Regions from separate parts of the Homo sapiens genome. Here all the other regions are linked to region 5. The links are contacts of gene promoters, found by promoter capture Hi-C in blood cells and fetal thymus (Javierre and others, 2016). All regions are on one chromosome and are shown on one strand. Each heading gives the region's core, a stretch centred on a gene start or on the middle of the fragment in contact. The rest is flanking DNA. Distances are from core to core; before and after follow the strand shown.

Region 1 (3,007 bases), core at 170-2,669, 940 kb after region 5:
GGAGTGTGAAAAGAGGAGTATGTGTCTTGATGACTCCCAGTCTTGTGGCTTGGAAGACTGAAAATATTGTGGTGCCATGAGTCAAGATCGGGGATATAAGGTGAAGAATAGACCTGGGGAGGAGGCTAATGACTTTGAGTTTAGGGGTAGTATGGAGAGTACTTGTGGAATATCCATGTGGCTAAAACTTCTGGAAGTTAGGAGCAATGCCTGGGCTGAGATCATGATGACAGGGTTGAAAGAGTGTTTGAAATCATGGGAATGGATGACACCATCCAGGAGGGGAGTGTTTAGAGTATGAAACTGGAGGACTAAGGATGATTCTATAAAACGTTTATCATCATAATATTTCATGGCACAGCTGAACCTTGTGTCTTTACCATCAATTTAATGCACTTTGCACTGAGTATATAGTAACTGAGTGCTTTGCCCTTAACTTACCTGCATTGTAGTGTTTTTGACATTTTCTAAGAATGTCTTATTTTGCAATTACATAGTAAGTTTCTGAAGACTAGAATAAGGCTTTTATTATTATTATTTTTTTTTTTTTTTTAGTCTTTAGCACAATGCAGATGTCATTGTTTGTCCTTGATACCTATTTGCTGGTCAGTAGGTTTGTTTTTTGTTTTTGTTTTTGTTTTTTAAACAGAGTCTCGCTCTGTCACCCAGGCTGGAGTGCAGTGGCAAGTGACCTCGGCTCACTGCAACCTCTGCCTCCTGGGTTCAAGCAATTCTTCTGCCTCAGCCTCCCAAGTGGCTGGGATTACAGGCACACACCACCACGCCCTGCCAATGCTGGTCAGTAGGTTTTTAATCAGACCAACGATGATGCAACGAGCCTATAATTTAGAACAGTGGTCTGCAAACTATGACCTACAGTCTAAGTTTATTCCACTGCTTATTTTTGTAAATAAAGATTTATTTTAACATAGGGATGCGAATTTATTTTTATATGTTGTCTATGGCTGCTTTCATGCTATCTCAGCATAGCTGAGTAGTTGTGACACAGATTGTACAGTTAGTAAAGCTAAAAGTGTTTGGCTTTGATCGGGCTCCTTACAGAAAATGGCACATTGACCCATGACTTACAAAATGTTAGGGTTATATTTCATGCACTGATGATAGCTTTAGTCTTAATGTAAAGTAATCAACTCATGATGCTGTGATTCTCACCCCACCCTCTGTACCCCTTTCAGACTAACAGCGGAGTTGCTGCGCCTACTTTGTGCAGAGCCCCAGGTGAAAGAGCAGGTGAAGCTCTATGAGGGGATACCGGTCCTCCTCAGTCTGCTCCACTCTGACCACTTGAAGCTCCTCTGGAGCATTGTCTGGATTCTGGTACAGGTTTGTGAGGACCCTGAGACCAGCGTGGAAATTCGCATTTGGGGAGGCATCAAACAGCTTCTTCATATTTTACAAGGGTGAGTAAAAGTGGGCTTTGGCCTACTTTGCCCTGTTTGTTGAAGTCTGGGGACTCTGTGACAAGATGGCAGATTGGTGTGTGTCACCTCATTCCCTCCTGCTTTGGGATTTCTTTGGTAATTCATGCTTTCCAAAGTCATCTAGACTTGTCACAAGCATGTTCTAAATCAATGTCAGGGGCATTCATCTTTTAAATTCCTTGGGGACCCAGATATATTTATCTTTGCATCACCAACCTCCAGTACAGTGCTGGGAATGTAGAAGGCCATCAATCTGCAAATATAATGAAGGCTGAATGGAAATCCAGTAACCTAAAAAAAACCTTTGTCTTGCCACCTTTTCCTTGAATTAGTATATGCATTTTGTCATTCCAAGTATAATGATTACTAATATTTTCCTAAAATGTTTGTGTGTGCACATATGTTATTATCTATAAAGAGAAAACAAAGCCTATATGAAAGGAGCAGGTGTACAATCCTTGTTTTTGAAAGATGATATCATTAATCAAGTGGTTGCCATGTTACTAACTCTAGTCCAGTTCTCTACTTTTCTCTCTAATCTTCATTACGGTCCTCTAAGGTGGGCATTATCTCTCTTTTAAAAGTAGAATTCCAGTGACATTCTAAGTCAGGAGCACGGAGAATGGATAGTTTTGTTCCCAATTGAAATTCTCTAGAAGTACGTTGCAAACTAACTTCTGTATTTTCTGAATTAAATAGATTGAAGTATTTAATAATAATATCTTGTGGTACCATCCATGGGAAGATTCTATTACCTAATATTGTTATAAAGTATAATTCAGTTCTATGGGTGCTGAACCAAAGTTAAAAATGAGTATGCCTCCTTGAACTGGATCGTCTTTATGATCTGCAGTACATAAATAAAGCTCATTCTAATAAAAGCAGAGGGACTTATCAATTTTCATATAACTAGATATTATCAAATCAATGTTGTTATGACTTTGTATTTGTTATGCTTCCAGCGATATTGCAGAACTGTGTGTTACCAACTTCATTTTCTCTTAAGGAACATTCAGAAGCATAAGAATAGACTGTACAGACATGAACAGTAGCTTTGTTAACAATATTTGTCATTACCTAAACAAAGGAAAAATTTATAGACTGTTGACAACCCACTTGCTTCATGAATGTGACATAAAAATATCAATTACTTTATAGTATAAATTATAAGTCATTCATTAGTGCTGTGACATAATAAGCCAGCCCCTTGGTCAAAATAATTACAATTGCCAAAGGTTTTTTATTTAGGTTTGTAGGATGACGATGGTAATGATGATCATGGTGGTGGTTATTCTTTATTATTGGACAATCATACCTATTATAATAGGTATGGGTTGCCCTCTTGGAGAACAGCTATTTTCATAAGGATAAAATGAAATTCTGTAATAGTTAAGCAGAATTTCAAAGACAAAACCTGCCTTTTTCTCATATAGAATTGAATCTAGCTTTCTTCTTTTGCTGAAGTCATAACTATCCTTGGTAAAAAAGAGGTCTTTCACATCTAAAGTATCATTTTCCAGTCCATTTTGATGGTGCAATGTTAGCAAACTTTTCCCCAGGACAAT
Region 2 (3,052 bases), core at 342-2,841, 850 kb after region 5:
AAAAAAAAGTCTTTGCTCTCCTACCTGGAGTTCTTGCTGTACCTTCCAGGGAGAAGGAAACAGCCTTTATTTTTTTATAAAGAAGTAACCCAGGCCAGGTGCAGTGGCTTGTGCCTGTAATCCCAGCACTTTGGGAGGCCGAGGCAGGTGGATCACTTGAGGTCAGGAGTTCAAGACCAGCCTGGCCAACATGGTGTACTAAAAATACAAAAATTAGCCAGGCGTGGTGGCGGGCGCCTGTAATCCCGCTACTCGGGAGGCTGAGGCAGGAGAATCGCTTGAACCCAGGAGGCGGAGGTTGCAGTGAGCTGCGACCATGCCATTGCACTCCAGACTGGGCAATAAGAGGGGAACTCCATCTCAAAAAAAAAAAGTAACCTAAAATTCAATTTTCTAGGAGTGGCAGAGAGGGTCTAGTTAAATTTCTAGAAGGGTAGTATATCTGACAGTAGTTGGAAAATTCCATGTAACAATTTCCAGTAGCATAAGGAGAAAACGAAGTGTGTTCTATAAGAAAAATGATCTGAGCATCCATTTGAATTTTCTGCTTTCATTAGCAGATTTGAATATATTCATTTTCCTTCTGCTCTGTTTTTGTTTTCTTCCATCCTCCTTTGCTTATGCTAAAAGGAAAGACATTGTGAATAGTGTCACTGGTTATATTTAATTTAACAAGTTATATGACTTCTTTCAGAAGCAGCTGGTTTAAAGGGGATCCGAAATAAGGAATATAATGAAGATCATTTTATTTTATATTATAAAATCTAATTTTATAATATTGCACTGAGACCAAAATGTTATTTTTAAAATCAGTGGTCTTTAAAGTAGGGTACACAGGTGGAAAATGATCTGCCAACAATTTTTAGAAAGTCTTATGTTTTTAATGTAAAAATATGAAAATATTAAACTTTAGGTTTATTTTATGAGAATATATAAATAAATGAAACTATGAATTAATATTGGTTCAAAACGTGATGTAATTTCCTGTAATCCTGGCCTAAGTTCCTTATTCTGATTCTTAAATATGTCCTTGTTATTTATTTACTGATATGGCTTTCAGGTAATAGGCTGATTTCAAGGGGCATAAAATATACTTGAGGAAGCAAATCAAGGAACTCTTAAGAGTAAATGGCATTGTATAAGTAGAATAAAATATTTTTGTTCATACACAACATTGAGTGTGAGGTAGTTTAATATATATTAGTGTGGAAAGATTGAATTACCTGAACTTTGAAAGTATTAAATTTCCCTTTTATATTGACAAATGTTTTCATGAAGAAGAAACAAGCTTAATACCAAGTTGAGGTAATAAAAACATATGTTTAGGTTTCTATATATGCAGTATTCTCCCAAACATACTAAACTCTCTTGATCTTTAAAAAAAAATTGCTATAAAATCTTACATTGTACTGTCAAAATGTATTAGTATCTCATAAAGTGCCAGATTTTTGTTAGTAGTTCCTTTGGAAATACCATGTATTGTGGACCAGTTCTGATTTAGTACTGACCCTGTCAAAATCACTAAGTCTGCAGGACTAGACTAAAGCAGTTTAGTTTAGGAGTTTAGTGGATAGATTGATTTCACCTTATATGAATTATGCAGGAACATGTGGAAATGACATTCCAGTTTGCTTATCAATTTCTACATAACAAACTTTTGAATAACAGCCCTTTATTTGTTTATAATTCTGTGGCAGTTGAGACTAGGCTTAGCTGGTTTGTGGTCTGCTCTGTGGGGTGCAGTCATCAATGGGGGCAATATGCCTTCATTCATATGTCTGAGGCCTCAGCTCAGATGGATGAAACAGCTGGAATAGTTGCCTGGGGAACCGCCCCCGACACCCACTACCATATAGACTATATTGAGGATAGTCTTATCCTCAAGAAAGCTTATCTAGGCTTACTCGACAGCGTAATAATCTCAGGGTTCAAAGCAGGTTAGAGAAGAAGCTGCAAGGTTCTTTAAGGTTAAGACTTAGAAATCACATAGTGTCACTTTGGCCTTATTCTGTGGGTTAAAGTAAGTCACAGGGTCATCCTGGTTTCAGGGGGGAAGGAGGCAGACTCCACCTCTAGGTGGAAAGATTGACTGAGTCAAATGACAGGAGGTATAGTTATAGGGATAGGAAGAATTACTGTGGCCATCTTTGAAAATAATTCACCATGTAGTTCAAGATTTAAGTTATTTCCCATTCGTTGGGTATTTCTTGGAACAGATCAAGTCTATGTTATGGAAATTTAGTGCAATACAGCAAGGAGACTTTTTGAAAATTATATTTAATTTTTTAACAGCCTACTCATCCAGAGAGAGGGTGGATCATAAGCCCACTGGGAGATAATCCTTGGTGGACCTTATTAATAGCTGCTATTCCTGCTTTGCTTTGTACCATTCTCATCTTTATGGATCAACAAATCACAGCTGTAATTATAAACAGAAAGGAACACAAATTGAAGGTAATTTTAGAATTTTGCCTTAAGCATTGTGATTCTTCAAGGGTTTGAGCTGTTTTTGTAATGATTAGAACATTAAAAGATGTAAGATGAAAATTAGCTTCTTCCCTCTTTATAATTCGTGTAGAATTTTAAATTGAGGGAACCATTTAGACTTACAGATATTTATGTTCATTTCACTTTTCAGAAAGGAGCTGGCTATCACCTTGATTTGCTCATGGTTGGCGTTATGTTGGGAGTTTGCTCTGTCATGGGACTTCCATGGTTTGTGGCTGCAACAGTGTTGTCAATAAGTCATGTCAACAGCTTAAAAGTTGAATCTGAATGTTCTGCTCCAGGGGAACAACCCAAGTTTTTGGGAATTCGTGAACAGCGGGTTACAGGGCTAATGATTTTTATTCTAATGGGCCTCTCTGTGTTCATGACTTCAGTCCTAAAGGTAAAATTTCTTTATTGCCGTGTTTTACAATCTTATTATAACATTTATACTTAGTTATGTGAACATGAAACATTAAAATATACTTAAAATACCTAAAATTAGGTTTGTTTTCCACAGTTTACTTGGGAAATAATTTCATTAGGTTTTTAGTATAGCAAGCAT
Region 3 (2,949 bases), core at 170-2,669, 920 kb after region 5:
TGGGTGTCACCAAAGAGCATAGACTATCCCTACCCTGACTTCCTACTTCTAAGCTAACCTCACCTTCTGAGCTCATAGAGGCATGACAGTGGAGGGATTCTGCCTTGACTGATATGCTCCCTTAGGTTTAAATCTAAGTGAGAGGTGCCTAAAATGTGCCTACCTTTACCACACTGGTTTAAATCAGAGAATTGGTCATCCATATATATTTGAGTAGCTGCTAGCTGCTGGGTGCAAGGCCTTGTGACCACCTCTGAATTTGATTAGTGTCTGGCTTCTTTCAAAAACATTGCAAAATTGCAATTGTCCTTATTTTAAAGACCTTTGAAGGATGCAACTAAATCATTCTTTGCTAAAGAAACATACTTTTTGAAAGCCTCTCAAAAGGTAGTTGAGTGAATACTTGTAGCATTTGATGACATTGAAGTGATACTTTTAAGTTAAATAGTTCTTTAGAAATCTGATGATGGTATTTTGGATATTGGCTATATTCAATATTTGAAGTAAAAATCCAGGTTTTTTTTTCCCCCCTCTGAACAGACCTGTGGCAAATACACCTTCAGTTTCTGTCATAATATGACTTCTCCAGTGACTGTGACTTTGATTTCAAAGGGTTCTGCTGAATCTCACTATAGAACTGTAGGGTAGTATTGGTGCTTTGCCCAGAATCCTCCCGTTCTCACCCTTTTGGTTTTGGCACCTTCCTGTCCAACAACACTTGCACCAACCACCCTCAGGTTCCTTGAGTCTACCTTGCCTGCAGGCACAGAGAGCCAGTGGGAGTGTCTGGGAATGCTCCATCAGTCCCTCCTGCAGCTCTTAGCGAATGGCAACAGCTTCAGTAGTGTAGAAAAGCCCAGTGCCCTTGCCTCAGTATGGGACAACTCTGAGCAGTAACTTACATTCCAGAGCCCCACTGTTCGGATTGAGGGGAGATTTTGGCTGATGTGATACCCTTGCTTGGATTTCTCCTCTTCCCTTTCCTGTTTCTCCCACTCTCTTACTGGCCTCTCCTGAGAGCATGTTTTCAGTCATTAATTTGCACACACTAATCTTCATCTCAGGGTCTGCTTCTGGGGAAACTAATCTAAAAAAATACTTTATCCCTGTGTTTCCCAAACTGAGCACCAAACTGCCTCAGGGCTGCAGAGAACTCCCAGGGGACACTGTGAGGTATTTTCAATTTTCTAAAAAACAAAACCAAAAACACCCTCAGTGCTACTCAACATCCATCAGATACAGCATGAACAACTGAAGGCAGTTTGTGATTTCAATGTTAGGTCATCCTGCCTTCCTTTAGCTGATGGTATATCTTTCAGAAGCTGAGTTTTCAGTGGTTGCTATGATAAAAAAACAAGTACTCTATGAAAGGGGGAAGAGAAAACAAAGATGGTGAAGTCCAAACTGATTCCCAGGCTTGAGAAGTTGTTTTGTTTCCACTAATGCACACACCCCCATTAATAAGTAAGTGTGGTTATGAAAATAATCTTTTGATGTAATGTATTATTTTTTCAAGTGGATACCAATTGGTTATGGCGTAAATTCTTACCAAGTTAGACCTACCTAAATTTTGGAACATTTAGCTCTTTCGTTTGATCTTAGGGTACTATGAAATATTACTGAGTCAGTAAGGGTGGTGGCATGAACCAAATAAGTTTGGGGGGGGCCTCTCCTCCACACTGAAAAAGATAGTTTAAATGTGTTTTGAATTAAAATGAGTCAAGTGTTCAAGTACCAAATAACAGTCCCCAGTGCAAATTAACTAAGTGCTTAGTGCGTTCTTTATACTCCTTCATAGCCTTGCATTTTTATGAATTGCCACACTGGGATTTTAAACGTGAACATGTTCTCTTGTTTTCTTCTTTCAGAGAGTGGGTTAATCGAGCCCCATCTATTCATTTTCTGAGAGTGTTAATCTGTCTGAGGCTACTAATGAGGGATCCATGTTATCAGGTTGGTTGGAAAAATACAATTTTTTTTTTTACTTGTTATAAAGTTGTAATAAAAGACTGGTGGGCTTTTCTTTGAAGTAGTCCATGTTTACTTTTTGTTTTCTCTCTCACAACTCAATAGCTTCCATATATGGGGAATGTCTCATCTACTATTTAAAAAGATTTGAGAGGAGCGCTTTAATGGGGACCAAAAATTTGTGTATTTCTGTTGTATTACTTATGGGATTAAGTGGATTGAACTTTTTGGTCTATGTTTTCTTTGCTATTTGGCATTTTAAACCATTTACCATTCAAGGAGGTATACACTTGGCCACATCTTCAAACATGTTCAAGGCCAAGCAGCTCCCTAGGTCAAAGTCAGCAGTGATGAGTGATGGCCTGCTCATGTGGCTGAGAGGCAGCCAATGGAGCTTTACTAGCTGCTCCAGGGTCAATCCCTTCCCAACCTCTAGAGTCAAATTTGAGCTAGAGGTGAGCAAGGAGCCTCCTGCTTGTCCCAAAGGAGGGCACTGAGGTCAAGAATCTTTTCCTGGTTGGGCATGGTGGCTCACGCCTATAATCCTAGCACTCTCCACCTCCCAGGTTTAAGCAATTCTCCCTCCTTAGCCTCCTGAGTAGCTGGGACTACAGGCACGTGCCACCATGTCCGGCTAATATTTTTGCATTTATAGTAGAGATGGGGTTTCACCATGTTGGCCAGGCTGGTCTCAAACCCCTGACCTCAGGTGATCTGCCTGCCTCTACCTCCCAAAGTGCTGGGATTACAGGCATGAACCACCATGCCTGGCCTCTGTTTTTAGTGCCTCTCAAACTTTAATGTGCATGGGAATCACCTGGACATCTTGTACATGCAGAATCTGACTCAGTATGTATAAACAAGATTCTTCATTTCTAACAAGTTTCCCAGGGATGCTATTGCTACTAGTTCATGGCCCATACTTTGAGTAGCAAAGACATAGTGCTTTAGCTGTGAGGCTCTAAAGAAAAGCTTACTTAA
Region 4 (3,333 bases), core at 314-2,813, 570 kb after region 5:
CTTCCTCTTCCTTCTCCTTCCTCCGTCTTTTCTACTCAATCTTTGTTATAAATATTACTTGATGGAGTTTCAGCTTTCAACGTTGAATAATATAATTAACCTTCTACAAAAGCCACCCATAATATTTGGGAAGTTTTCTGGAGTTCACCCAAATAATAAAATCCAAGAGTCTAAAACACCAACTTCTCACCACTAAGAACACATTCCCCCAATGGTTAAATTAAACTAAATTTGGCCTGAAGATGCCTCAGTACTTGACTCCTTACTGAACAAACTGCAACCAACTTAGTATTTAAACTAACTGAAAGCTTAACTTAGAAATATACTTTTATAACAAATAGCTGAGTCTCAGCCAGTGACAGCAGCCAGGGATCAGTCAATCACAGACATGTTCAAATAACTCAAACACTAAGCTGTCTCTATACCTCCTTTTTGTTTTCTGGGGTTTTTTGTTTGTTTGTTTTTTGAGACAGGGTCTCACTCTGTCACCCTGGCTGGAGTGTAGTGGCACGATATTGGCTAACTGCAAATTTCGCCTCCTAGGCTTAAGCAATCCTCCCACCCAGCCTCCTGAGTAGCTGGGACTACAGGCATGCACCACCACAGCCAGCTAATTTTTGTATTTTTGTAGAGAAAAAGTTTAATCATTTCGTCCTGCTCTCAAACTCCTGGGTTCAAACAATCCACTTGCCTCATCCTCCCAAAGTGCTGGGATTACAGGCATGAGCCACAGTGCCCGGCCTTTATTGGCTGCCTTTCCTTCCCTGTCTTACTTCTCTAATCTGCTGGTATTCCCCACACTTCCTAAATAAACTCTCATATGGGAACTTTTATTTCAGAATTTGCTTTCAGGTAAAGCCAAATAAGACAACTTTGAAACATTTATTTAACCAATATTTATTGAATGCCTGTGGTATACCAGGCTCTGTGATGAACCAAATGACACGGGCCTTGCCTTGTTTTAAACTACATGCGATCTTCCCCTTCCTTTCTCTTCCTGTTCCTGCTGTTGAAATCGTCAGTCTGTTTCTCCTCCATTCTATCCTACACGTGAATTCCAGAATCACCATAATAATACCATTTTCATTGTAACACCATCATGGCTTCTCATGACCAAAACACAAATTTCAGATTTTTTAAAATGGCATTTGAGGGCATGATAATTTACCCCTCATCTTTGTTTCCCAGCAGTCTCAACTGTTGTTTCTCCTCTTTCCCCATGTATATCCTGTGACCTTGCCTTCCCAGAACAATGGGATAAGCATAAGGCTGAGATTAAGCACATGAACTTTGGAGCCAGAAGCCTGGTTCTCCCACCCAATATCAAATACCAGTGTAACTTTAGGCAAGTTATTTTACTTATCTGTGCCTCTGTAAAATGGCACAGCAATACCTCCTCTACAGAGTCACTGTGAGGGTTAGCTGAGATAATACATATAAAGCACACAGAACAGTAGCTGAGCACTCTGCAAGTGCTGTTATTATTGGTGGTTGTTTGATACATCCCATGTGGAACATACCACAAGTGTTTGTGTTGTGCCCTGTCTGGACAATTTTTTTTTCCATTTAACAAACTCCTTCAAGACCCTACTCAAGTATTAACCTTTCTATGCAGTTTTCTCTTATCAGCTCCTTACACTCAACTCTAAGAATTAATTGCACTTGGTTTTTCAAGTCTGTAATATTTTTTATGTATGTCTATTTCTGCACTTATAACATTATATCATGATTAATTGAGTGTGTGTGTGTGCACGCATGTGTGTGTGTGTATCTCCTATCTCCCATGTGAACTGTGAGCTCCCTGTGGGGGGGGGGGGGATGGTATCTTTTTCATCATTAAACCTCCAATGCCCAGTATAATGCCTGGAGTATGATTGGTGCTCCATAAAATTAGTTTAATGTAAGAATGAGCAAGTGGGTAAATGAATGAATGACTGAAATTGCTGCAGAAAATAGGGTGGGACCTACATCGAGAGCCCACCCATCTTCCACCCCTTTCTTGAGACTTCCAGTATAACGGGAGGCATCTTACCTGATCCTCCAACAATCTATTTGTTTCATATACCCTCATTGGTATTCCCCCAACCCCCCCATACTACCTTCTTTCTAATACTTCCCTTCCAGGCCAGAAGAGCATAAGGATGAGACTGCTGAAAGATGCTCAGCATTTGAACAGAGGCAGGTTGCCATGGCAACCATCCACAAAAAGAGTGGCAGCATGTGCTACTATTTCTCAGACCTGGCTCCCAGCCCGGCCCTGGCTGGTGGGAGGCAGCAGAGAGACGCTGTGTAGCATTTCCACATTACAGTTTGTGCTGCACCCCATTGCTTCCTCATTTCATGCTGCGGTTGTGAGTTTTACAGTTTGCTTTTCTGTAGGAATTTTGTTTTCTTTAGGTTTGTGGTGGTAGAGGCAGGGAGGAATGAGCAGACTGAACCCAAGCCATCTTTTAAAATGTTTCTAAATTAGCAGGAGTCTACCCTTGGTCTCCTGTTTTTATCCCATAGAAATGTTTTGGGGATTAGTGACAGGAAGCCCTGCTTAGTGCTTAAGAGCTGCTTTGTGAGGAAAAGATTATTGTTGAGCCAGAAACAAGCCACAGGTGTGTTGCATTCAGACCTTGAGTAGAGGATAGGGCTGGGAGGACTTATTCCTGTAGCTTTGTGCTTTCAGGACTGTTGTTGTTTACTGGGTCTTTCGCCAAAGTCACATGGGAGACAAGTTTGCATTTCCTGTAAAAACAGCTGTGGGAGACTTCATTACAATAAGTAAGAGTCTAGTGATAGATTCTGAGAACTCAGTACCAGGAAAAGCTTCTGTTTCTTCATGAACTGTGGCTTATTTTTTCTACTAATGGACAGTGGACATCATATAATTGCTGGAAGTTCTGAGCTACATATTATGTTCCAAATACTAGTTTCCTTTTTTCTTTTTTTTCCTGGTTTTTTATATTTATTTTATTTTATTTTTTGAGACAGAGTCTCTCTCTGTTGCCCAGGCTGGAGTGCAGTGGCATGATCTCGGCTCACTGCAACCTCCGCCTCCCGGCTTCAAGCGATTCTCCTGCCTCAGCCCCCTAAGTAGCTAGAATTATAGGTGCACGCCACCACGCCTGGCTAATTTTTTTGTATATTTTAGTAGAGACTGGGTGTCACCATGTTGGCCAGGCTGGTCTCGAACTCCTGACTTCAGGTGATCTGCCCACCTTGGCCTCCCAAAGTGCTGGGATGACAGGCGTGAGCCACCGTGCCCGGCCCCAAATACTATTTTCCTTATTCAGCAGGTCTTATTACAATATATTTTATTACAAGCATGTAATAAAATATGTAATA
Region 5 (3,350 bases), core at 492-2,991:
ATTAGGCTGGGTGCGGTGGCTCACACCTGTAATCCCAGCACTTTGGGAGGCCAAGTCAGGCAGATCACTTGAGGTCAGGAGTTCCAGACCAGCATGGCGAACACGGCGAAACCTCATCTCTACTAAAAATACAAAAATTAGCCGGCCGTGGTGGCGGGCGCCCGTAATCCCAGCTACTCAGGAGGCTGCGGTGGGAGAATTGCTTGAACCCAGTAGGCGGAGGCTACAGTGAGCCGAGATAGCGCCACTGCACTCCAGCCTGGGCGACAGTGAGACTCCGTTTCAGTAAAATAAAAAAAAAAGATACCATAAATTATATGGGCCTAAACTTGAACCTTCCTTACTCACCCCTCACTTATACTCTACCCCTTCTACCCTCAAGAACCAAATCATGGTAGTCATCCTGAAACCAAGCATCGCACAGTGCACCTTACTATCTAAACCTTTGCTCATAGGGCTGCCTCTTCTCCAGCTCCAACCACTGGAAATTCCATCCCTCAAAGCCCAGATCAACTGCTAACTGCTTCATAACCACCTAGTCCAAAATGAATATGATCATTATGTTCCAGAACTCCTCTATGCTTCAAATTAGAGTACTCCCTGATCTACCACTACCTGCTGGACTAGTCACTTAACTTCTCTTCGCCTCAGTTTCCTAATCTGTAAAATGGAGCTAAAAGGACCTACCATACCACATATTATTGTTGGATAATAGAGAACACTTAGCATGGTAATAACATGTTCAATTAAAACATTATTTCTGTGCTACATATATTTTCCATGCTCCTTGAAGGCTCCGAAAGAGCATTTTCCATTTCTGAATCTCCCAAGTTTGACGCCATTTACCTCTCAATGTTTTGACTTTTTGTATCCATAAAATGAAAGAAATGGACTAGACCAACTACCATTCCCTCCAAAAATGTTATCTATTCCCTTGCAAAAATAGCCTAACGCAAAGATACTGCAGGTGACCTTCCACAAGGACGGGAATTCGAGGGTAAGTTAACTATTGCTGCAAACGGAAGTGGCTGGAAGCAAAGAGATTAAAACAACATTCAAGATTTTGAAGATCCTTTCCAAAGAAACTGACTCCTGCCATAGTGATGGATCCTTTGAAATATGTTTTTAAGTTGGGTTACAAGGATGAACTCGGGGTCCATGAACTCCCAAACAGAAATGTAAAACTGTGCGCCAGAACAAATATACAAATTTTTCTGGGGCCAGAGTGTCTGCAGCATACATTAAATGCATCTGTGACCTTAAGGGGCGAAAAGAGGGTGACAATGAAGAGACTAGTCGCGTTAAGTTGGAAACCACAATGGATGATACTTTAGACAACAAACGCAACCTCAGATAACCATAATCCCCAACAAGTGAGAAGATGACCTCAGACCGGGCGAAGCAGCCGCCGGGTATGAGGAGACGCTGGTGGAAGCAATGCTACCCAGAGCTCTGCACCTTTCCCAGGTCGGCATCCAGCCCGCATGGCCCGCGGCGTGAGACCCGGGGCGAGGCCCCTCGGCAAACCCCGCTTCCCGCCCCGGTACCTGCGGGGTCGAGCGCCATCTCGGCGGGCCGAGAAGAACGTAGCCGCTTGGCGGCTCCGGGGCACGCAGGAAGGGGAGTGGAGGGGAGGGGCTTGGGCTCGGACGCACGTGCGACCCCCGGGAGCTTCCCGCAACAGAAACACGGGCCCTTTGCAAAGCACCGCCAGGACCCGTTCCCTCTTCCTTCCCAGGCTCCTACTTCCGCCGCCCGTTGCGCCTGCGCCTTTCTGGCCCCGCCCCAATCCTGTAACTAGAGTGGAACTGACTTCGCAGGGGGAATGACCAGGAAAGGGGGCGTGTCTGCGTGCCTTTGGGGCGGGACCGTGCAGGACGCGCGCAGCCTCGCTTCAGGAGGCTTGTGCACCAGTTGCAGACCCGGGTCGGCCGTGACTGGAGGCGGACCTGCAGGACTTTGGGACTGTGCCTCACTCGGTGACTGGGCCAAAGTCCGAGCCCCGTCCCCCATACCCGCCTTCGGAGAACCAAATGAATCATCCAGTTCCTTTTTTTTTCTTCGTTAACGTTCATTCATTCATAAATGTCTATTTCATGCCTGCCAAGTTCCAGCCACGGTTCTGAATACGAGGGGAAAATAACAATAAAAATAACGTCCCTGTTCTCAAGGAGCAGTGTGGCAGAGGAGACAAATAAAAGCAACACGCTGTTAAATGTGATAAACGCCACACGCACTAGTTGTTCACAGCTTGTTCTACCATAAAGGTGATATGGTGTGTGCAATATCGTTATTTCTCCTTCAAATCAAAGACTGTGGCTCTCCTAGACGTTAAAATATGGGCTCTAGAAGTACCTCTATGTTGTGAAATAATATCCTCAGGACGTACAGTATGATTTGGGTGATGTTACAAATCCTGCCTCTATCAGTAAAAGCTGTATGTTTTGTGAGAGTAAAATGAAGGAAGGTAATAGCCGTCCCGCTGAAGACCCACTACTCACCTCTTCTCAATAGAAGAAACTTTCTAGGTGGCACTTAGGTTCATTTCCACTCACAAACCAGCCTTCAGAAGTGCTTCCTTGTCAAATTCACGTTTAACTGGCTCGAGCCACGAAAGGGTGAGCTGAGGCCTGGGACAGATGGGACAGATGTTTAGAAAAACAAGGAGCAGCTGCTTCTTCCCTGCAAGGGATTCAGGGCTTTCAAAATGATCCCCTCCCCACCTACCTGCAGTCCCTCCTCCCCTGCTGCTGCTTCCGCCTGGTCAGTTGGCAGAAAAGCTGAGGCAGTTGAGCAGGGCTGGGAAAGTGGGTCTCTGCTCAGCAGGTCTTCCGTTTAAGGGCCTATTTGGGCATAACGGCCCTTATTACAGCTGTAGGTTGAGGTGCCAAGGTGAAGAATTAACGTTTCACTCACCCAGCCAGGGAATCAGGTCCTTTTCCTTGTATATTTTGTAAATATGCTTAGAAATACACCAAAATGACTCTGGTATGCCTCTTTTATTGTTCTGAAGGTGAAGGATTTGATTTAGAAAGCTAAAGCAATCTTTTTGAGGAGATGGAGTATGAAAACACAGGTCAGACACCCATATTCAAGAATTAAACTAAATCTTTCTATATGCAAAAGGGTATTATGGTAAAGGAGGAAAGTTTGATCTGTTATCTTAGTGAGTTGAGTAAGTTCTATTATTTTTCTGGACTTTGGTTTCCAATTTACAAGGTTGTTCTGAGGAATAAATGTGATATCATACAATGCATTTGAAAGACTTTAAAGGACCACTTCTACCATTTCTGCCATAGCTATTACTTGAAACATTACTATTTAACATTTGTTTTTAAATCAACACATTT
Region 6 (3,271 bases), core at 524-3,023, 600 kb after region 5:
TTTACATTCATAATATGGAAAAATAAATGTATATAAAAAATTTTAAAACAATAAAAAGTCATCCAGGCACTGTGGCTCATACCTATAATCTCAGCACTTTGGGAAGCCAAGGCAGGAGAATCGCTTGAGGCCAGGAGATCGGGACTAGCCTGGGTAAATAGTGAGACCCTGTCTCTACAAAAATTAACATCAGCCAAGAATGATGGTGCGTGCCTGTAGTTCCAGCTACTTGGGAGGCTGAGGTGGGAAGATTGCTTGAGCATAGGAGTTCGAGGATGCATGATCATGCCACTGCACTTCAACTTGGTGACAGAGCAAGACCCCATCTCTAAAAAAATAAAAAAAAAATAGATGCATAGATAAATGTATCAGTGTAAAATAAGATAATTTTCCAATGAAAAGGACCTGAGATTGTATTAAAAATTCATCTGGAGAGCAGATCCATCTGCAGGATGACACTGACAATCCAAACATTTGTTCAACCTTCTTTTGTTGACCTCTGAGTTCTCAATAGACTGCTTGCGCATGTGTTCTCATTGCGGATACGTTAAAACATATTGAAAAAACTTCTCCACCTTAATTTTTTAAAGTATATTAATAAATACAAAGTCTTGCTTTGTTACTGTCAAGGAAGTTCAGTTTTAAAAAACCCCCGAAATTTGGCAACAGTCAATAAACAAACCAATTGATTGTGAGTAGAAATGCCACAGGTATTTACCCCCTTGAGCTGAGAGCAGGATGTTAGTCAGCTCTAGGAGCTAAGGATATTTTCTGTTTTGTTCTCCTCTGTGTCCCCAGAGACCTAGGATCATGCCTGCCACAAAGACAGCTGTCTGGAAGAGTCAAATTCTGAAATATTTCAAAACCAACTTCTGTTATGCAGAGGTCCTTTACCTCCAAGGGCTGAATGATGAGAGAGGTAGAGATGGGATGATAAAGCACAAGGGACCATCTGGAGAGGTTTGGGGAAATGTCAGTTTGAAGGGATGGGGACTAGGGGGTTAGATGAGGGAGAAACAGAAAGGTGGGTATTCTGAACATGCGTGCAGTTTTCACAGCAAAGAGGCAGGAGAGTGGAAGACAGAAAGAAGGATTTTCTCTGCGGAGCGGGCAGCACAGGGCAGAGGGGAAGGAAAAATAAAACTAGGGATTGAGAGAGAGAGAGGTGATTGGCAGGGTATTGAAAAATACTTTTGCCAGGAGTTCCTGGTATCTCTCTAAGCTTTGCTAGTTCACAGACCTCTCTATACAAGGAATGCAAAACATTGGATTTGGATAGATAATGTATGATTAAGCTTAAAAATACCCAAAAAGGGAAATATTGCGTCAAGAAATGTGTGTCAAAACAGCCAGAGAGAAAGACAACTGGACAGAGGGCTGGTCTTACGGACATAGGCTTCAAGGGAGCCCACCCTGAAAGAAGAGCCGTGTGAGTGATAGAAATCTCATCTAATCTCCCTACAAAGATGCCCTGAGAAGTATCTGTTTCCAGAAATCCAGAATCCTGAATGACTGCGTGCATAGTCAGTCTTTTTTTTTTAGTAAATATGCCCATGAAAGTTAGATTAGGCATTGCCTTTTTTTTTTAAACTATACCCTAAAAATTCTCTGTGAAGCTTTGTATCAGTGTAATTAGGCAAAAGAAAAGCAGGAAACCTTAATGGAATCTTTTGATCCCATTAGGGCTACTGGGACATTTGCTGAGCAAAGTCAGAGGTGGTTAATATCTAACCAGGGTTTAATTTATGATCTGAGTGTACAAACCACTTTCAAGACTATACAGCTGACTAATGAATTTATTAGGGAGATTAATGCTTATTACCTGCCGTTTCAAGACATGCTGTTATGTGCTAACTTGACTGTTGTACCTTGGAACATGCTGAAACCTCCCGAGGTTCACCTGAATGGTGGGTGTGTTCCCCAAGCTTAGTGCTCCCATGGAGTTTGAAGTGGAGGGTTAAGAGGAGTCAGTCCTCACTTCTGTGTTGGTTTCTGTATGTCTCAGCCCGTCACCAGGACTACTATAGCCCATGAGGCTGGCACACTCTCCTCCTCCAGCCCTGCTCAGGGCTTTCCTTGGTTTCCTTGGTTAAGGGCAGGCAATGGATCTGATGTAGGGATATTGCCCTGACAGAGGTCATTTCCCCAACCTTCTGGCAGCCAAGTGGCCACCTCCCTTTGAAAGGTAAGCATATATCTTTCCCATTGCCACTCTCCTTCAGCCTCCTCCCTACTCCTACCTCATAAACAAGAGCAAGTGAATCATGCTATATATTCAGATAGAAATAAGCCCTATTAAGGCAGTATTTAGTAAGGCGGGGCTAATGAACAGATTCATCCACACCAAGCCCCGGAGTCTTAGCTGAAACACTCATGTAGAGTCTTCCTTATCCAGGTATCTCTTTTTCTTAACTCAAAAGTCACTTACTTAACTCAGCCAGGAGTTTTGTTAAAAAAAAAAAAAAAAAAGATTTAATCTAATCTATGTGATAACCGTATACATTTTTTCTTTACCTTTAACCTAGGCCTTGAAGTTCTTACAGCCCACTTGATAAGCTCAAGTGGAATCAGGCCTTCTCTTATTATTAAGAAGCACAGTATTTCCCAAAGACCACTCATCACTCTGCAAATAGTCTAAGGACATGAGGGCCTTAATCAAAGCAAGGGGAGAGAGAAAACTGAAAGTCACACATCAGGCCAATCCCACTGTTGCTTTGGCTGTGGGTGTGACTCTTGGAGACTGATCCCACACAGGCTGGGGGACAGTTATCTGCTAAACTGAGACACTTACTGGTTGAATCATGCCTTGGTTAATAGCACCCCAACTTGGGATTGATCCAAGGTTATAATTATTTTCATTAACCTTCATGTGCTTCATATAGTCACCAAGGTATAGCACTACCAAACAGTATTTGTCCTCAGCTGTATGTTGTACCAATACCAACCCTCCCCCACACCCTCTTCCACCTCTCTGCATTGAACTTGGGTTACCAGCCTTGACCTACCTTTCCCTCATGGTGAGTTCCTCTTTGATATTCTTTCCTGATAATAGCTATTAGTGGTCCTACCTCAATCTAAGAGTGATTCTCCAAGTGCTGAACCTCAAAAGAGTAAGAGCTGGGGTCCAGATGCAGTGGCTCATGCCTATAAGCCCAGTGCTTTGGGAGGCCGAGGCAGGAGGATTGCTTGAGCCCAGCAGTTGGAGACCAGCCTGAGCAACATAGTAAGACTGCCATCTCTGCAAAAAATTTAAAAATTAGTCATGAGGTCA
Region 7 (3,083 bases), core at 179-2,678, 770 kb after region 5:
AGACAGAGGCTCGCACTGTCTCCTGGAGTCACTGTCTCCATGAGTCTTGTACTGTTGCACAAGCTGGAGTGCAATGGCGTGATCTCATTTGCCTCCCGGGTTCAAGTGATTCTCCTGCCTCAGCCTCCCGAGTAGATGGGATTACAGGTGCCCGCCACCATGCCAGGCTAATTTTTTGTATTTTTAGTAGGGACCGGGTTTCACTATGTTGGCCAGACTGGTCTCAAACTCCTGACCTCGTGATCTGCCTGCCTTGGCTTCCCAAAGTGCTGGGATTACCTTTAAATGATTTAACCATTTTGACAAAATATTTAAAATGTGATATATCTCTCCTTTTAAGAATAGAGTACTGATCACTAACTAGCTTTATACTGTTTTTAAAACTTACCTTGTGTTTAACTGTTTTATCATTGAATTTCTTATCTGCTGTAGATTTGTTATTGATAACAAATGAAATGACAGTTATTTAGTGGAGATGATGATGGAGGCCTCTGTTATCTCACTTATTTATTCTCTGAGACACAAATTTTACCTCCTAAGACTGCTTTCTGATTCTTGTTGTAGATAGCTTAATTCTGTTTTGATGAGATCTTACTGTATCTTTTTGATAATGTTAGACTTTCAAAATTTAGTCTCTAGAGTATAGAAAGTCAGAGAGCTTAGCATAGTGTTCAGTCGAATAGGCGTAAGATAGTTTCTAGTTGTTATTCTGTTGAGGCAGGACGATAATAAATTATACTTTATAAAGGGTTCATATTCATAGTTTCATCTTAAATTTACCATTTATATATTTTTTCTGTAATATGAAATAATTACCATGAATTTTATTGGGTAAAGTGATAGTCTTCTAAATTTTGTTTTGGGTACACACACAATTTGTGCACATACGCTCTTTGTGATTTTATGTATGTATTTGTATTATTAGATAACTTAAAAGATGTTCACAAATTTCGAGAATAACTATGTAGCATTGAATTTTATTGGGTTAATATACTCAATCTGCCTTTTTTTTTTTTTTTTTTTTTTTGACATGAGGTCTCACTCTGTCACCCAGGCTGGAGTGCTGATATGATCTCGGCTCACTACACCCTCCACCCCCCGGGCTCAAACAATCCTCCCACCTCAGCCTCCCGAGTAGCTGGGACTACAGGCACGCACCACCACACTTGGCTAATTTTTTGTATTTTTGGTTTTGCCATGTTGCCCAGGCTGGTCTCAAACTCCTAAGCTCAAGTGATCCGCCTACCTTGACCTCCCAAAGTGCTGGGATTATGGGCATGATCCTGGCCTCAAGCTGCCTTTCTATTTTACAAAAATGTGATTTCTCAAAGGGGTCGTTAAAGTAGGAATTTTAAAGTAATTCAGCTTGTTTTAAAGAGCCGGTTGTATATGTACTGACTTTATTAATTACATTTTTTTTTAAGAGATGAGGTCTTGCTATGTTGCACAGGCGAGAACGTGGTGGCTATTCACAGGCATAATCATAGTGCACAGGAGCCTTGAACTCCTGGGCTCAAGTGGTCCTCTGGCCTCAGCCACCTAAGTAGCTGAGACTAATGGTGCGTACACACACACCATGCCCAGCTTATCAATTTTTGAGATAGATGTTTTCTTCCATTTTTTAAGCTGATTCTAATCCTTTTTTTTTTTTTTGAGACAGAGTCTTCCTCTGTTGCCCAGGCTGGAGTACAGTGGCGTGATCTGGACTCACTGCAACCTCCGACTCCCAGATTCAAACGATTCCCCTGCCTCAGCCTCCCGAGTAGCTGGGATTACTAGCTTGCGCTACCACGCCCAGCTTATTTTTGTATTTTTAGTATAGCTGAGGTTTCACCGTGTTGGCCAGGCTGGTCTCAAACTCCTAACCTCAGGTGATCTGCCCGCCTCGGCCTCCCAAAGTGCTGGGATTATAGGCATGAGCCACTGTGCCCAGCCTGATGCAATTCGTTTTTGAAAAGGAATTTTGATAGAGGTAAGATACAAATAGAAATTGTTTCATTGATTAGAAATCAAAACAGTATTTTAATATGGTTCCATAGCAAAGTATGAGCCCATCAGAATTTGAATTCATATTGGAGGTGTGAGGCAAGAGGTGGGAGATAAGGTCATAAAGGGAGTGGAGGAAATGATTTTTAGATTAAATTTCATCATTTCAGATCACAGCTGAAAAATGCAAATTATACACTTTATATCACTGCATTCAATTTAGTTATTTTATTTTGTTTTTATATATATTTTTATTTATATGTATATATTTTGAGATGGAGTCTCATTCTGTCGCCCAGGCTGGAGTGCAGTGACGCAACCCATACAGATGGGGTTTCGCCATGTTGGCCAGGCTGTTCTTGAACTTCTGACCTCGGGTGATCAGCCCACTTTGTCCTCCCAAAGCACTGGGATTACAGGCGTGCATTGCGGAAACCAGCTGCATTCAATTTAAAAAGACATTTTAAAATTTAATATCTTGTCACTGACTTAAGCTCATGTATTCAATTTTTATATAACTTATTTGCTATCATCTGCTAATTGCATTGGTTTAGCAATAAATGGCTTAAAAGGTCAATAAATGAGTATTGACTGGATTAGCTCTGAGGGATTGTTTTATACCATGCCAGTGCTTTCTTTGTTATGGTTGTGAGCTTTGAAGAGGGAGGGGCAGTTTAAGATTGTAATTTGGTAGCAGTGAATTTCAGATGATGGGGGATGGCTGCCTCTCTGCTAATCTAGAATAAATAGCTGATTGGAGGAGTAAATACTGTTCATTGAGAAGATTTTCATGTAAAGCCAGAATGATAATATTTTCAGCTTTTTCAATCGGCCTCACAGGAATGGCATATAAAGTGTAAAAAATGAGCATGGGCTAACAAATTTTTGTTGGGTCTGTTGGTTAGCAGTCATTTACTGTTTAATGCCTTGAATCACTCAAATGTTAAAGCTTTTGCTTTAGTTTGTCATCTGAAACAAATTAGCGTGAACCACAGTTTATAAAATGCAGGCCTGGGACTTGTAATGGGAATTTTTTACTCACTTTGTTGATAGTGTATTAAAGCTTCAAATTGGAAGCTGGGCGCGGTGGCTCACGC

What was found. The method cuts DNA at HindIII sites, captures the fragments that hold promoters and counts their contacts. A CHiCAGO score of 5 or more calls a contact.
Region 1: a contact is called between a fragment that was not itself captured here and the fragment with the promoter of CMC1 in region 5, in 1 of 17 cell types (M0 macrophages). The highest score is 6.6, in M0 macrophages.
Region 2: a fragment that was not itself captured here is called in contact with the fragment with the promoter of CMC1 in region 5 in 3 of 17 cell types (naive CD8 T cells, fetal thymus and total CD8 T cells); the score reaches 5.4 in naive CD8 T cells.
Region 3: a contact is called between a fragment that was not itself captured here and the fragment with the promoter of CMC1 in region 5, in 1 of 17 cell types (M2 macrophages). The highest score is 5.5, in M2 macrophages.
Region 4: a fragment that was not itself captured here is called in contact with the fragment with the promoter of CMC1 in region 5 in 6 of 17 cell types (M2 macrophages, M0 macrophages, activated CD4 T cells and 3 more); the score reaches 6.8 in M2 macrophages.
Region 6: a fragment that was not itself captured here is called in contact with the fragment with the promoter of CMC1 in region 5 in 1 of 17 cell types (non-activated CD4 T cells); the score reaches 5.5 in non-activated CD4 T cells.
Region 7: a contact is called between a fragment that was not itself captured here and the fragment with the promoter of CMC1 in region 5, in 4 of 17 cell types (fetal thymus, non-activated CD4 T cells, monocytes and 1 more). The highest score is 7.1, in fetal thymus.

The regions. Positions count from the first base shown.
Region 1 is chr3:27,303,161-27,306,167 of GRCh38, reverse strand. NEK10 (NIMA related kinase 10) reads left to right here. Exons shown (of 36, transcript NM_001394966.1): 12 at 1,197-1,421. Among named protein-coding and RNA genes, the nearest start is that of NEK10, 65 kb to the left of the region's middle. The HindIII fragment of the contact is 4,760 bases long and covers 1-3,007 here.
Region 2 is chr3:27,394,356-27,397,407 of GRCh38, reverse strand. It overlaps SLC4A7 (solute carrier family 4 member 7), which reads left to right. Exons shown (of 26, transcript NM_001321103.2): 19 at 2,293-2,454; 20 at 2,639-2,890. Among named protein-coding and RNA genes, the nearest start is that of NEK10, 26 kb to the right of the region's middle. The HindIII fragment of the contact is 601 bases long and covers 1,291-1,891 here.
Region 3 is chr3:27,321,181-27,324,129 of GRCh38, reverse strand. NEK10 (NIMA related kinase 10) reads left to right here. Exons shown (of 36, transcript NM_001394966.1): 6 at 1,869-1,953. Among named protein-coding and RNA genes, the nearest start is that of NEK10, 47 kb to the left of the region's middle. The HindIII fragment of the contact is 3,046 bases long and covers 1-2,942 here.
Region 4 is chr3:27,665,832-27,669,164 of GRCh38, reverse strand. No RefSeq gene overlaps it. Among named protein-coding and RNA genes, the nearest start is that of LINC02084, 45 kb to the left of the region's middle. RefSeq lists a silencer at 2,261-2,310. The HindIII fragment of the contact is 2,506 bases long and covers 311-2,816 here.
Region 5 is chr3:28,240,010-28,243,359 of GRCh38, reverse strand. CMC1 (C-X9-C motif containing 1) reads right to left here and starts at 1,741. Exons shown (of 4, transcript NM_182523.2): 1 at 1,548-1,741. The coding sequence starts at 1,566. RefSeq lists a silencer at 1,449-1,528. The HindIII fragment of the contact is 9,835 bases long and covers 1-3,350 here.
Region 6 is chr3:27,641,016-27,644,286 of GRCh38, reverse strand. The region is part of intron 1 of LOC124906221 (a long non-coding RNA gene); the gene reads right to left. Among named protein-coding and RNA genes, the nearest start is that of LINC02084, 70 kb to the left of the region's middle. The HindIII fragment of the contact is 309 bases long and covers 1,619-1,927 here.
Region 7 is chr3:27,471,650-27,474,732 of GRCh38, reverse strand. All of the region lies in intron 1 of SLC4A7 (solute carrier family 4 member 7), which reads left to right. Among named protein-coding and RNA genes, the nearest start is that of SLC4A7, 11 kb to the left of the region's middle. RefSeq lists an enhancer at 2,609-3,083. The HindIII fragment of the contact is 3,019 bases long and covers 1-2,937 here.